Regions from separate parts of the Homo sapiens genome. Here regions 1 and 2 are each linked to region 3. Evidence: promoter capture Hi-C in 16 types of primary human blood cells and fetal thymus (Javierre and others, 2016). All regions are on one chromosome and are shown on one strand. Each heading gives the region's core, a stretch centred on a gene start or on the middle of the fragment in contact. The rest is flanking DNA. Distances are from core to core; before and after follow the strand shown.

The links. The method cuts DNA at HindIII sites, captures the fragments that hold promoters and counts their contacts. A CHiCAGO score of 5 or more calls a contact.
Region 1: a contact is called between a fragment that was not itself captured here and the fragment with the promoter of ETNK1 in region 3, in 1 of 17 cell types (activated CD4 T cells). The highest score is 6.7, in activated CD4 T cells.
Region 2: the fragment with the promoter of GYS2 here is called in contact with the fragment with the promoter of ETNK1 in region 3 in 3 of 17 cell types (activated CD4 T cells, total CD4 T cells and non-activated CD4 T cells); the score reaches 8.0 in activated CD4 T cells.

The regions. Positions count from the first base shown.
Region 1 is chr12:21,455,067-21,459,721 of GRCh38, reverse strand. PYROXD1 (pyridine nucleotide-disulphide oxidoreductase domain 1) reads right to left here. Exons shown (of 12, transcript NM_024854.5): 6 at 4,430-4,590; 7 at 3,627-3,727. Among named protein-coding and RNA genes, the nearest start is that of PYROXD1, 20 kb to the right of the region's middle. The HindIII fragment of the contact is 2,267 bases long and covers 349-2,615 here.
Region 2 is chr12:21,602,739-21,607,000 of GRCh38, reverse strand. It overlaps GYS2 (glycogen synthase 2), which reads left to right and starts at 2,154. Exons shown (of 16, transcript NM_021957.4): 1 at 2,154-2,529. The coding sequence starts at 2,409. The HindIII fragment of the contact is 12,472 bases long and covers 1,384-4,262 here.
Region 3 is chr12:22,622,533-22,627,119 of GRCh38, reverse strand. ETNK1 (ethanolamine kinase 1) reads right to left here and starts at 1,949. Exons shown (of 8, transcript NM_018638.5): 1 at 1,534-1,949. The coding sequence starts at 1,689. ETNK1-DT (ETNK1 divergent transcript) reads left to right here and starts at 2,074. Exons shown (of 4, transcript NR_135030.1): 1 at 2,074-2,447. RefSeq lists enhancers at 826-1,515, 1,535-1,704, 2,235-2,304. The HindIII fragment of the contact is 2,136 bases long and covers 49-2,184 here.

The DNA of each region.
Region 1 (4,655 bases), core at 233-2,732, 1.2 Mb after region 3:
TGCACAGGACACCATCTGGCTGTCCTCTAATTCAATTCAGTTCTGATGTTATTATCTACCTGGAGATAGCATCAGGTCCCACATGTTGAGGGATCAATCTCACAAGACTGTCTTCCACTTCCAATACCAATTGCATGCCCCGGGTGTTTTACCAGTTGGTCTGACTAACCAACCATAAATCAAGGGGCTCCCACGAGCCCCTTTCTTAGGTTCAATTAATTTATTAGAATATCTCACAGAATTTGGGGAAACACTTTACTTACATTTACTGGTTTATTATCAAGGATGTCACGAAGAAACAGATGAAGAAATACATAAGGCAAAGCATATAAGAAGGGGCATGAAGCTTCTATGCCCTCTCCAGATAGACCACCCTCTAGCAACTTCCACATGTTCAGCTATCCAGAAGCTCTCCAAACCCAGTCCTTTTGGGTTTTCATGGAAACTGTGTTATGTAGGTGACTGATTAAATTACTGGCTGCTAGTGATTGGCTTAACCTTCAACCTCTTTCCCTTCCTGTAGGTTGGAAAGTCTAAACTCTAATCATGTCTTGGTCTTTCCTGTGACCAGTCCCCATTCTGAAGCCACCTAGGGGCTAACCAGTCAACTCGTTAGCATACAAAAGGACACATCACTTTGGAGATGCCAAAAATTTTAGGAGTTGTGTGCCAGAAAACTGCAGACACAACATTTTATTGTGCTTCACTACTGTTTTGCAGATAGTGTGTTTTTTACAAATTGAAGGTTTGTGACAAACCCACATCAAGCAAGTCTTATCAGTGCCATTTTTCCAATAGCATGTGCTCACTTTGTGTCTCTGTCACATTTTGGTAATTCTTGCAATATTTCAGTTTTCATCATTATTAGATCTTTTATGGTGATCTGTGATTAGTAATCTTTGATGTACTACTGTAATTGTCTTGGGGTGTCATGAACCACACCCATCTAACACAGTGAACTTAATCGATAAATGTTCTGTGTTCTGACTGCTCCATCAACCAGCTGTTGTCCTATGTCTCTCCCTCTCCTTGGGCCTCCTTATTCCCGGAGACACAAGAATATTGAAACCAGGGCAATCAGTTACTCTGTAGTGGCCTCTAAGTGTTCAAGTGAAAGTAAGGATCACACATCTCTCACTTTAAATCAAAAGGTAGCAATGATTATTAGGGTTATTGAGGAAGGCACATGGAAAGCCAGGCCTCTTGCCCTGAACAGATGGCCAAATTGTGAATGCAAAGGAAACATTCTTGAAGTAAATCTAAAGTGGTATTCCAATGAACACATGAATGATGAGAAAGCGAAACAGTCTTCTTGCTGACATGGAGAAAGTTTTAGTGGTGTGGAGAGAAGATCAAATCAGCCACAACATTCCCTTAGGCCAAAGCCTAACCCAGAGTAAGCCCCTAACTGTTTTCAATTCTGTAAAGGCTGAGAGAAGTGAGGAAGCTGCAGAAGAAAAGGCTGAAGCTAGTAGAGGTTGGTTCATGATGTTTAAGTAAAGAAGCCATCTCTACAACAAAAATATACAATTGATAACTGATGAATGTGGCTACACTAAACAGTAGATTTTCAGTGTACATGAAACAGCCTTCCAGTGGAAAAAGATGCTATCTAGGACCTTCACAACTATAGAGGAGAAGTCAATGCCTGGCTTCAAAGGACAGGCAGACTCTCCTGTTAGGGGATAATGTAACTGGTGACTTGAAGTTGAAGCCAATGCCTATTTACCACTGTGAAAGTTCTAGGGCCCTTAAGAACTATACTACATCTACCCTGCCTGTCCTCTGTAAATGGAACAACAAAGCCTGGATGACAGCATTATATGGTTTGGGCCTGGTTCTCCACCCAAATCTCATATCAAATTGTAATCCCCAATGTTGGAGGTACGGCCTGGTGGGAGGTGACTGGATCATGGGGACAGTTTCTAATAGTTTAGCACCATCCTTAGTGCTGTTTTCATGTTAGAGTTCTCATGAGATCTGGTTGTTTAAAGGTGTGTGGCACCAGCCCCCTTCTCTCTCTTCCTCTTGCTCTGGCCATGTAAGAAGTGCATAATTCCCCTTCCCCCGTGATTGAAAGTTTCCTGAGGCCTCCCCAGTCATGCTTCCTGTACAGCCCGTGGGACCATGAGCCAATTAAACCTCTTTTCTTTATAAATATTACCTACTCTCAGGTATTTCTTTATATACTGTGAGAATGGAGTAATACACAGCACATCTGTTTACATAGTTTACTGAATATTTGAAGCCCACCATTGAGACCTACTGCTCAGAAAAAAAAAAAAAAAGATTCATTTCAAAATACTACACTCATTGACAAGGCATTTGGTCACCCAAGAACTCAGACAGAGATGCACAAGGAGATGAATGTTGTTTTCATGCCTGCTAATACAATATCCATTCTGCAGCCCATGGATCCAGGAGTAATTCTTACTTTCAAGTCTTATTAAAGAAATGCATTTCATAAGGCTATAGCTGCCACAGATAGTGATGCATCTGATGGATCTGGGAAAAGTACATTGAAAACCTTCTGGAAAGAATTCACCATTCTAGATGTTATTAAGAACATTCATGATTCAAGGGAGTAAGTCAAAATATCAACATTAACAAAAGCTTGAAAGAAGTTTACTCCAACCTTCATGGATGACTTTGAGGGATTCAAGATTTCAATGGAGAAAGGCAGATATGGTGGAAATAACAAAAGAACTGTAATTAGAAATGAATCCTGAAGATGAGACTACATTGCTGCAATCTCATGATAAAATTTGAAAAGATGAGTTGTTGTTTCTCATGGATGAGCAAAGAACGTAGTTATCTGAGATGGAGTTTACTTCTGGTGAGGATGCTGTGAGTATTGCTGAAATGATGAAGGATTTAAAATATTACATATACTTGGTAAAGCAGTAGCAGAGTTTGAGAGAATTGACTTTTGAAAGAACTTCTACTCTGGGCAAAATGCTATAAAACAGCTTCGCACGCTACAGAGAAGTCTTTCACGAGAGGAAGAGTCAATTGATGGGGCAAACTTGTTATTTTAAGAAATTGCCACAGCCACCCAAACCTTCAGCAAGCACCACCCTGATGAGTCATCAGCCACCAATACCGAGGCAAAACTTTCCACCAAAAAAAGATTATGATTTGCTGAAGGCTCAGATGATTGTTAGCATATTAAGCAATAAAGTATCTTTAAATTAACGTTATGTGCATTGTATTTTTAGACACAATGCTAATGCACATTTAATAGACTGCAGTATGTTATAAACATAACTTTTGCAGGCACTGGGAAACTGAAAAATTCGTGTGGCTCACTTTATTGTGGTATATCATTTCCTGTGATGGTCTGGGACTGAACCTGCAATACTCCAAGGTATGACTGTATATATATTACAGTATCACACCTCAAGAGTTAAAACGTAGGCTGAGATCCAGTCTTCGATGCTTTGACATTCAGTTTTCTTTGGTGGCCAAATGGACCAACTGCATTGGAGGTCTTTTCCTAACACTATGGATTTTAAGTAAAGTGACCTAACAGTTCGTTGACTATATATTTATTACCAGTCTTTAATAAATGGTTCAAGAATTTAAAATTACATTTAGACATGACCAATTAGTATATGAAAAGATACCTCTTTTGTTCCTTTAAGATTCAAGCCTTCATGCCAATCTGGTCCCAATGCACTTCCTACATTATCTGCTTTAGATTTGCTTCTAGCTTCCTTTTTCCTTCCTAAAGAGATGAAATTAAATAATATAAAAATTACCAGATAGAGAAATATGTTAGTGTTCTGAAGTTTTTTATTTAGGCAATGTAATGATTCATATATATACATACATTACAGCATGACTAACCTATGTTATCTATATTAATCATTTTAGTCATTAATATTTTTCTGATGTAGAGTTACAAAACAGATAATCTTTCAGTTGTGTGTTGAGTATAAACACACTCAACTTACGTTTTGGATGTTACACGGTTAACTGGAAGGGTAAGAAAATTAGCCTTCAAATTTTTATAATTTTATATATTTTTAGCACCTCCAAAATGTACAAAACTCTTGTTTAATTTTATAATCTAAAAGTTTTTCAAAGCTATCAAACTTAAAAAAATATGAAGTTTGTATTAGTTTTTCAACTCACTGCATTTTTTACAAAACTTCTTCAGGTATTGCCAAAATGTAGTATCTGTTTGCAAAGATGCAGATGGGCTGAGTTATTCAATTTATTTTAAATTTCTTGTTTTAATTATATATATATATATAAAATACATACATATATATAAAATAGAAAATCTGAAAACTTCATGTAAAGATATATAAATATCCATATTACTATTTCCAAAATTTATTTTATTAAATTTTCTTGTAGCCCTTTTCTATATGGTTTTAAAAAAGTTTTGTATGAGAATTAATGAGCTAGGTGCTACACTTACCTTCAGTTGTATATCTGGTTCTTTTATGTGCAATTTTAGCCTCTGATTTTTCAGCAATGAGCTTTGAAGTCAAGAATTCAGCTGCTCCTGCATCGAAGAAAGTATTCCCTATAGCTTTATCTTTAATGGCCCAAATCACTTCACAGCCTTCAATTTCATACCTAAAAACAATGTTAAAGTTACTAAGAGTGATTTCAAAAGTCTAAGTAAAAAATCTTTGCATTTG
Region 2 (4,262 bases), core at 905-3,404, 1.0 Mb after region 3:
TCTATTCCAGCCTTCTATTACATATACTTCATGAACAGAGGTATAGAGTACATTTTCACAAAATTAAATCAATCATACTACTTATTTTATTTTACATCCTACTTATTTTCATTTAGGATGTTATAAAATATACTCATTGATCTTAAGGTCATTTTTCTGAAAAAAATGTTTTCTCTAGGCATTTGATCAGGTAATATATACAGGTGGTACAACTTCAAAAAAATGAAAGAAAAGTAAAGCCTTCTTTTTACCCCTTTCCTTTTCAATGGTAACCTCTGCCATTAGGGAAAGCTTTTACTAAACCATCATATGTGTTATAAAAAAGGCTAAGATTACTAAAGTGGTTGGCATAGTACCAGGCACAATGTTAAGTGACTTATATAGATTATCTCATCCCCATTTTATCAAGAAAACAAAAACTTAGGTAAGAAATTGGCTCAAGTTTACACAGCAGATAAGTGATGCCACAAGTGCCTAACTCACAACTAAGCAGTTGATACCTGGAACAGATTGCAAATAAATAATTCAGCCTTATCATGTAAGCTGGAGAATATGGATCATTGTGCTCCTGTAGCCTGTGTGACACTGGATGAACCAATCTCAAGGCTCCTGGAACAGAAAACTGCAAACGTGAAACTCTATCACTGTCATCCCATTCTCACTCCTGTCAACATGTCCTTAGATTTGGTTTTACTGGAATGTGCACTTGCAGGACTCTCAGAGGTTATGTGAACATAAGCAAACCATTTTATAAAGGAGACAATCATTTTGATCATTTGGGATCATATGTTTTCTATTTTAGTACTTGATTTTTTTTATTAGCCATATAATCTTTTTCTCACAACGCAAACAAATGGATAACAAACTATGTACTTAAATGTACTTTTCTGGACAAAGATAAGAATCAACTGTGTCACAAAATCATAGATGACATTTATTTATTTTTGTTTTAATTAATTTTTTATTTTATTTTATTTTTTAAGAGAGTGGTTGTTCAGGTTGGCCTTAAACTCCTGGGCTCAAGTGATTCATCCCCCTCAGCCTCCTGAGTAGCTGGAACAACAGGTGTGTACTACCACATCAAGCTGACATATTTAATCTATTTGGCTTACATAGATTTATTAATGTAATATAATGAAATGTGGTTCTGCCCATCTTGAGTCATTAAAATAAGTGTAAGTCTATAAGACCAAGTATATAGAAAATAATTTAAAACCTAATAAAAGGTGCTAAAATAGTATTATCAAGTAACAAATTACAATTCTGATTGTAATTCTAACTTAAAGGATATTTTGTATGAGCTTCAGTTCTGCTGCTTTAGAGAATAATAATGTAAAAATATTGATTTTAGCTACATCTGTAAAGATGGCTCAAAATTAAGCTTGCTTGTGAATGCACCAACTCTCTGTAGGTACAATATAGGATATATGTGTATGGGTGTGTAAATAAATTGGAACATATATATTTACAAACATAGAAACACAAGGGAAAAGCAAACATATGCCATTTATCTGCAGTCTGATCCTGATGATTTTTCTTCCCATGTTTGAACATTTACATTGACTGAATTATTCTTTATCAATTTGATAATATTTGAAGGAAATGTACAAACATGACAAAGATTTATTTTTACTACCTCATTAAAATTATTGACTGATGATTATTGACCAGTCAAAATTATGTTTTTTTTCATGTTACACCCAAAGACATACTCAAATTTATGCTTTTTTATAGGGAAAGTTTTAAGAAAAGTAATTGAGAAAAGGGGGCTCAAGATCTCTGGCTATCACCAAAATTCAATTTGTAAGTGTAGAATAAAATAACTAGGAATATTTTTTAAAAGCTCTAGAAATAGGAATCAAAAGAAAGAAGAATATTTAGGAAATCCAAAGGGATTTAAAGCATAAAAATATGTCCCAATCAGTCTACATGTAATCTAAGGAGGCCTGCAAACTTAATGAGGGGAGTTGCCAATATTGTATCACTTTGGAAATGATGAAATAAGCATTGGTAACTGTATGAATCTAGGAGTCTGGTCAAAAGGACAAGGGCTAAAAGGCTGAACTTGGGTCATGCCCTGCCTATCCCAGGAAGTGCTTACCTATGTCCTGAATCAGAGGGTTTTTCTGTTGACAGCTCTGGATTGTTTGGGTAGATACTGACAGGGCAGATACCGTCCTCACAATACCTGCCCAGAAAGACGAGAAAGAGGAGGAAGAATTCCTCCTTCCACCAGGAATTCTGTGGGAAGCACATAAGATTTCATGCTACTAGTTTATTCCCAAGAGAAGCTACCAAAGCCTGGTAACTCTACCAACTCTAACTTTTGTGCCTGTAAGTTCTCTTCTCCTGGGATTACAACTAATTGAAACAGGAATTCAAAGGAGTCTCGGAGGACTGTAAGAAGAATGCTTCGAGGCCGATCCCTCTCTGTAACATCCCTGGGTGGGCTTCCCCAGTGGGAAGTCGAAGAACTTCCTGTGGAGGAGTTACTGCTCTTTGAAGTTGCTTGGGAAGTGACCAATAAAGGTTTGTACTGCTCCTGAAGGTGGATCAGTACACCTTCACTAGGTGACTGAGGAATGTAGAGTAAGATTTCACAGATAACTCTCTAGTGATAACCAATTGCTAGTGAGTGAGGAAAGCATTTAAACGGAATATATATTTAGGCTACATTTAACCTTGTCTATTACAACAGGCTATGAATACAGACTTGTGTATGTGTTGAAGAGGGAGAAAGTTGAAAATATTAGCCATTGCCATGGAATGTGCATTTAAATTAAAATTTAAAATCCATATTATGACAACATAGAAATAAAAAGTTAATATTTACATTTTTTGTTTTAAAATTTTTCTCAGCAAAATAGTATAATTAAACATTTTATTTTAGGAAGATGTATATGTGATTAGAACCAGTTGGAAACCTCAACTCTACATTCTGTTAGTAATTATATGAAATGCTTAAGAATGTTTCATATTCACAATTAGCTTGGAATTAATGTTTTAATTCAGGAGCTTCTCAAAAGGCAAAATACTGTGCTCCTTTCAGAATGAAAGTAATTTTTTTCTTCAATGCTATGCTTATGTAGGAATTATAAAATAAAGAAAATCAAATTGATAAAACAATTTGCGAGTGAGGTATAACCTCATCTGTGCTGGGTAAGAGAAGGCAAGGTAGAGAACCACAATGTAAATGATTTTGAAAATAAAGACATCTGTAAAATTATAAAACAATTCCTTGTGGGTTTATACTCTCTAGTTTAAAAGTGTCAAGACTATTGAAGGAACATTAGCAAAGAAAAAGTCATGGTTTTGAAGGCTGAGTTCCTCAAGATCTTGAAGAATCAAGCCAACTGATTGCTGGGTAAATGGCAGTGATGACTTGTGTGATTTAAACGATCTGAAATTATGTCATGTGTTGTGATATATAACACATTTATTTTTCATTTTGTGTTTACTATTTCATGTCTATTACAGTAATCTAAAGGATCTGAAATAATAACCAGAATGTGATATATTACTTCCTTCTTTTGGCTAATCAGAGCCAGCATAATCTCAAAATTAAATGCATTATATATGGCATGCATTCTGAAAAATCAGAATTCACCTTATACTAACTGTTCAAAGTTCTCGTGTGTATGCATTCATAAAATCAAAATTAAAAGTCAATTTTGCCTATGTAGAAGTGGACAGAATGCATATAAGAGAACAAAGCACGGTCTTATTCTCTGTAGTTTAGTGAGAAAGAATCTAGGAGGACAGAAACCTTATTACAGAGAAGTGAAGTATTTTATGTGTACCTGTTTCTGTTGTTTCTTTTTAAATTATTTTGTATTCTTTTCCTCAGAGATCTTTATCCTGAAATGAGCATGTGTTTTTAATGTCCTTTTTCTAGTCACAAATTTTTCCAGTCCAGTTTTTAAATATGCCCAAAGTTCCTGGGAACAGAACCATCTCTATCACATGTGAATCCCGGAGTATGCCTTGAAATAAAAGTTTTCTCTAGAGAGTGGGCAGGAGCTCAAGGACATAGCTTATTGGTGGATAAAACTGGAAGGGACTTGTTAGCACTGGGAATCAGTCCAGAAGATCTCTGCACAAGTTCCTGCACCTGAGCAGAGCCCCTTCTGCTTTCCTCTTTTCTCATCATTTAACAAACATTAATGGAGCACTGTTACCTGGGCACTGGGAACACGCCAGTGAAACTAAGTTATTTTATGGATCTTATAATCAGTAGCATGTGTGTTGATCTCAGGGTCTAG
Region 3 (4,587 bases), core at 700-3,199:
ACTATTCTACAGACAAATACATCAAAGGAAATTCCAGTCTTCAAAGCTTTAAACTTTAAAGTCACTGCTTAAAAGTAACTGATCTGCCAACACTAGAGTTTACCAGGAAGTAGCACTTTTTAATTAATAATGTTTTATGTATAAGTGACTGCCAGAAAACAAATCATCTTAATAAATTTTAGAGTCTTATATAATAAAATACAAACAAATTGATAAACTAAACAAGTACTGAATTTCAATTTGGAAGACACATTTCCTTTAAAGGAAATATATTTTTTAAATGACATAAAAATCACTTTGGATTCACTATTTCCTATATTCTCGGCTAACAAATACTCCCTTAAATTTCAAAATTTGTTGTCTAACAAGTTTCTTCTCCAAAACATACGGGTCCTTTAAAATAATCTGCTTAAAAACTCTTCTAGGTAATAAGAACTGAAACTAACACATGAAAACCCAAGTGTCAGGAACTGTTCTGGGCCCTAGGCACTGCTCATGTTTTATTCATCTTTGTGTGGGTGGCTGGCTAGTTTAGCGAAGAATTTAGCAAATAAATCAACAAATATTGGTGAATAAATTAGTCATCAAAACGAGGCAGATGATTTGGCTAATTCAAATGAATGTTCTTACATTATTGCTCAGATTTAGAACAAATCCCAAATATCCCAATCTTGAAAATTACTGTTTTTTTTTGTTTGCAAGGGAAAAGGAGAAAAAGAGATCTATTTTTGTATCTAGTTCCTGAAACTAAAGCTAAAAACAGATTAGTATTCAAAAAAAATCACGTAGTGGAAATCATAACTTCCAACTTATTAGAAAACTCCTAGAGTCTCAGGGATTTTTTTCCTCCCAATTTTTTCTCTATCAACACGGTGTCTCATGAAAAGGAAACAGTCACAAGCCACTGCTCCTTCTAGTATCAGGTATTAATTTCAGTAAGACGACTTTAATAATTCAGAAATATCGACTCAAACAAAACAATGTGTGTGGTGCTGCCTAAGAACCGACCTAGCGATGCATGGTCGTGGTCATTACTTTGGGAATTGAGTACGCTAGGGTTTGGGAAGACAAAACGCAGTGTGAGGCATCAATGAAAGCACATCGCAGGGGGAGGGGAGAGGAAGGAAAGATCAGAGAGGATTAATGACTGCATTACTGGTGGGAGGGGAGGAGGTAGACGAGGACCCCGTGCAAGGGGAGTGGAAAGGTTCATTTTGCAGTGACCGTGGACTGGGGAGTGGGAGGAGGGGCAACTATCAGCAGGAATCTCCCCCCGTGGATGGGTCCGTCACTTACGCAGCGGCTTCTAGAAAGAGAAAATGTGCCTCAGGTCAATCTCAAAGAGCAACTGCGACGGGAAGGGGGAGTGACCCTCCTAGGTGTGAGGGGAAATACAGGGTCACTTCCCAATAGACTTAAGGAGATGTTGCCCTAGGTCCTCCTCGGTCATCGTGGGACAGAGGCGATTGTGGTGAGGACCCCCAGAGCCGCGTGAGGGGCATAAGAGACCCAGAGCTGAGGTGTGGGCGTTACCTGCAGGGTCACCTCCTGGGGGTCCCAGTGAGGCCGCAGGTGTTGCAGGAGGCTCAGGGCCCCCTCCCGGCAGCGATGCTCCTCCTGATCCTGAACGGTGACGTTCAGCTTGGGCACCTCCGGGGAGCCGGGAGGGACGTGGATGTAATTGGCCATGGCCCAGGCGACGGCGGAGACTACCACCACGACGACGGCGACGGCGACCACGAGAACGGCGGGCGCCGACAGACTGGTGGATCCTTCCGTCCCGGGGCGCCCTCGCGGGAGGGCTGGGGGCGCTGGGACGGGCGGGCGAGCGGCAGGAGAACGTCTGGAGGCGGCACTGTTGCCGATCCGGGTCTGGACAGCAGCTGAACTGAGCCCGGCCCGCTCTCGGAGAAAATTCCTGTTGTCGGAGCTGGACCGCGGGCGGCCGCAGAGCATGCCGGGGCTGGCCTGACGCTGGCGTCACGCGCGGGGCGGGTCCTGCGCTGCGTCAGGGTGCCGAGGCGGGGTTTCTCGCCTCCGGTCACAATGGGACCTCTGTACCGCGCTGGGCTTGTTGGCCTGCGATTAGCACACACCCATCCCTGGGAACTGCTAGTCTGGAAAGCGGGGCTGCTTCTCCGGGATGAGCCCGAGCCCTGCCAAGCCCCTCAAGGCATTGAAGCTTTAGCTCACCTTATCCGAATGGTCATTGGGCATCTGGACTTGAGTTAACGACTGAATTTTTCTGGGAAGCAAGGGACACGTTCTAAAATAACCCCAGGATCACTCTCCGAACTTGGCCTGAGTCTAGGCAAGCAGTGTTACTCGGTCGCCTTGATCTTGGAGCTGCTGTGTACTGGGGACCTCATACTAGTTGGGTTAACTATATTCCCATTAGCAGTACGCGGGATCGCAGTACTCGGGACAAGCTGAGTTCAGGTATTTGGGTAAGACAACTGCAACACTTCAGAGGTTATTTGTGGAGTAAGATGTTCGACCATACAGTGAATAATTCGAAGCTAGGGAGAACAGATTAGAGTCTGGTATGAAGAAGAAAGGGAAGGAAAGGAATAGTTTTGAAGCTCAGCGCTAGAACGACTCGATGTCCATGCCAGGGTACCCCGAGTGGGCCTTGAAATCTTGCGTCTCAGTGCCTTACAGGGAATGGTAGAAACTGGAAAATCTACAAGTAAAGTATTGGGACCTCCTAATTTTCCTTTTAGATGGAGGAAAACGGGCTGGGATTCCCTGCAGCACTTAGCACACGGTGAATACGTTTGTTAGTAGTAAATAAAACCCTTAACTGGACTGAGTTTAATTAACATTCAAAATGTTTAATTACTTCACTAGCATTAAGTTTACATCCTGATTGTTCAGAAAGAACCTACTTACCTTTGTAATTAACAAAATAATTACTTCACCGATAACGGTAAACTTCCTAAACTAAAAAGAGGGGTGGAAATGGAGCTTTATAATACAGCAAAGAAGTTGATTTAACATTTTTCAAATTTAGTGGTTTTTTTGTTTGTTTTTTGTTTCTGTTTTTTTTTGTTTTGTTTTTGAGACGGAGCCTCACTCTGTCGCCCAGGCTGGAGTGCAATGGCGCGATCTTGGCCCACTGCAACCTCCGCCTCCCGGGTTTAAGGGATTCTCCTGCTTCAGCCTCTCGAGTAGCTGGGATTACCGGCGCGTGCCACCACGCCCAGCAAATTTTTGTATCTTTAGTAGAGATGGGTTTCACCATGTTGGCCAGGCTGGTCTCGAACTCCTGACCTCAGGTGATCCACCCACCTCGGCCTCGCAAAGTGCTGGGATTACAGGCGTGAGCCACCGCGCCCTGCCAGATTTAGGCATAATTTTCTACAAGAAACATTAGAGTGTGTGTTCCTTCCACTTTGGGGAGAAATCATAAATATACTACTACTTTCACATTTCAGATAGTATCTCTTGTATTTTTGTATAAATTGTATTTTTTATTAAGCAGTTGACATTTTAAGAATTTTAAAACTATGTAACTGTAAAACAATTTAATTGAAAATTATGTTGCAAACTGCACTAGTTTGTAATGGTAAATAAGAGTCCATTAACAAGTAGAAGAAAAGAAAAAAAAACTATTAGGTACCTGAGAACAAAAGTAACCGAAAATGTACAGGATCCATGGATAAAATTAATGGAGAAATGAACCATATTCATAAATGAGAAAAGATTAATGTAAAGGCCTCAATTTTCCCTGAACTAATCAGTACATATAATGCAATTCCAGTTAAAATCTCAAAAGGGTTTTTTTACTGAACTTGTTAAAATGACATTGAAATTCATATCAAAACTTAAGGTCCAAGAAAAGCGCTGTAATTGGGGAGAGGAGGATAGGGACAGGTAAGATCAGGGAATATATTGGGAGGACCAACCCTACCAGGATGTATTATATATTGGTTTAGGTATGGGCAAATAAACTACTAGAACATAATAAAGTCCCAGAACAAAACCTACACACATATGAGAACTTTGTATATAACAAAAGTAGCATTAAAAATTAGTGAGAAAGTCCAGACTGATCAATGAACCGTAGTGATACAATTGCTTTTTGTATGAGAAAAAAATTTTGATCCCTCCCTCTTATTATGCATAAAAATTAATTTGGGGAAGATTAGAAACCTAAATGTTAAAAGCAAAACTTTAAAAATGTGCAAGAAATATCAGTTCTTATCAACCTGATCTACTGATTCAATTCTAATCACCTCAAGTTATGTTGTGGATATCAGCAAACCAGTTCTAATGTTTACATGCAAAGCCACAAGAGCCAGAATAGCCAATACAATATTAAAGAAAAACAAAGTGAGAAAACAGACAGACTTGAAGACAGTATAGCTGGGTGCAGTGGCTCATGCCTGTAATCCCAGCACTTTGGGAAGCTGAGGCAGGAGGTTCGCTTGAGCCCAGGAGTTTAAGGCCAGCCTGGGCAACACAGTGAGACCTCATCTCTCCAAAAAAAAAATTAGCCAGGTGTGGTGGTGCACACCTGTAGTCACAGCTACTCCGAGGCTGAGACAGGAGGATTGCCTGAGCCCAAGAGATTGAGGCTGCAGT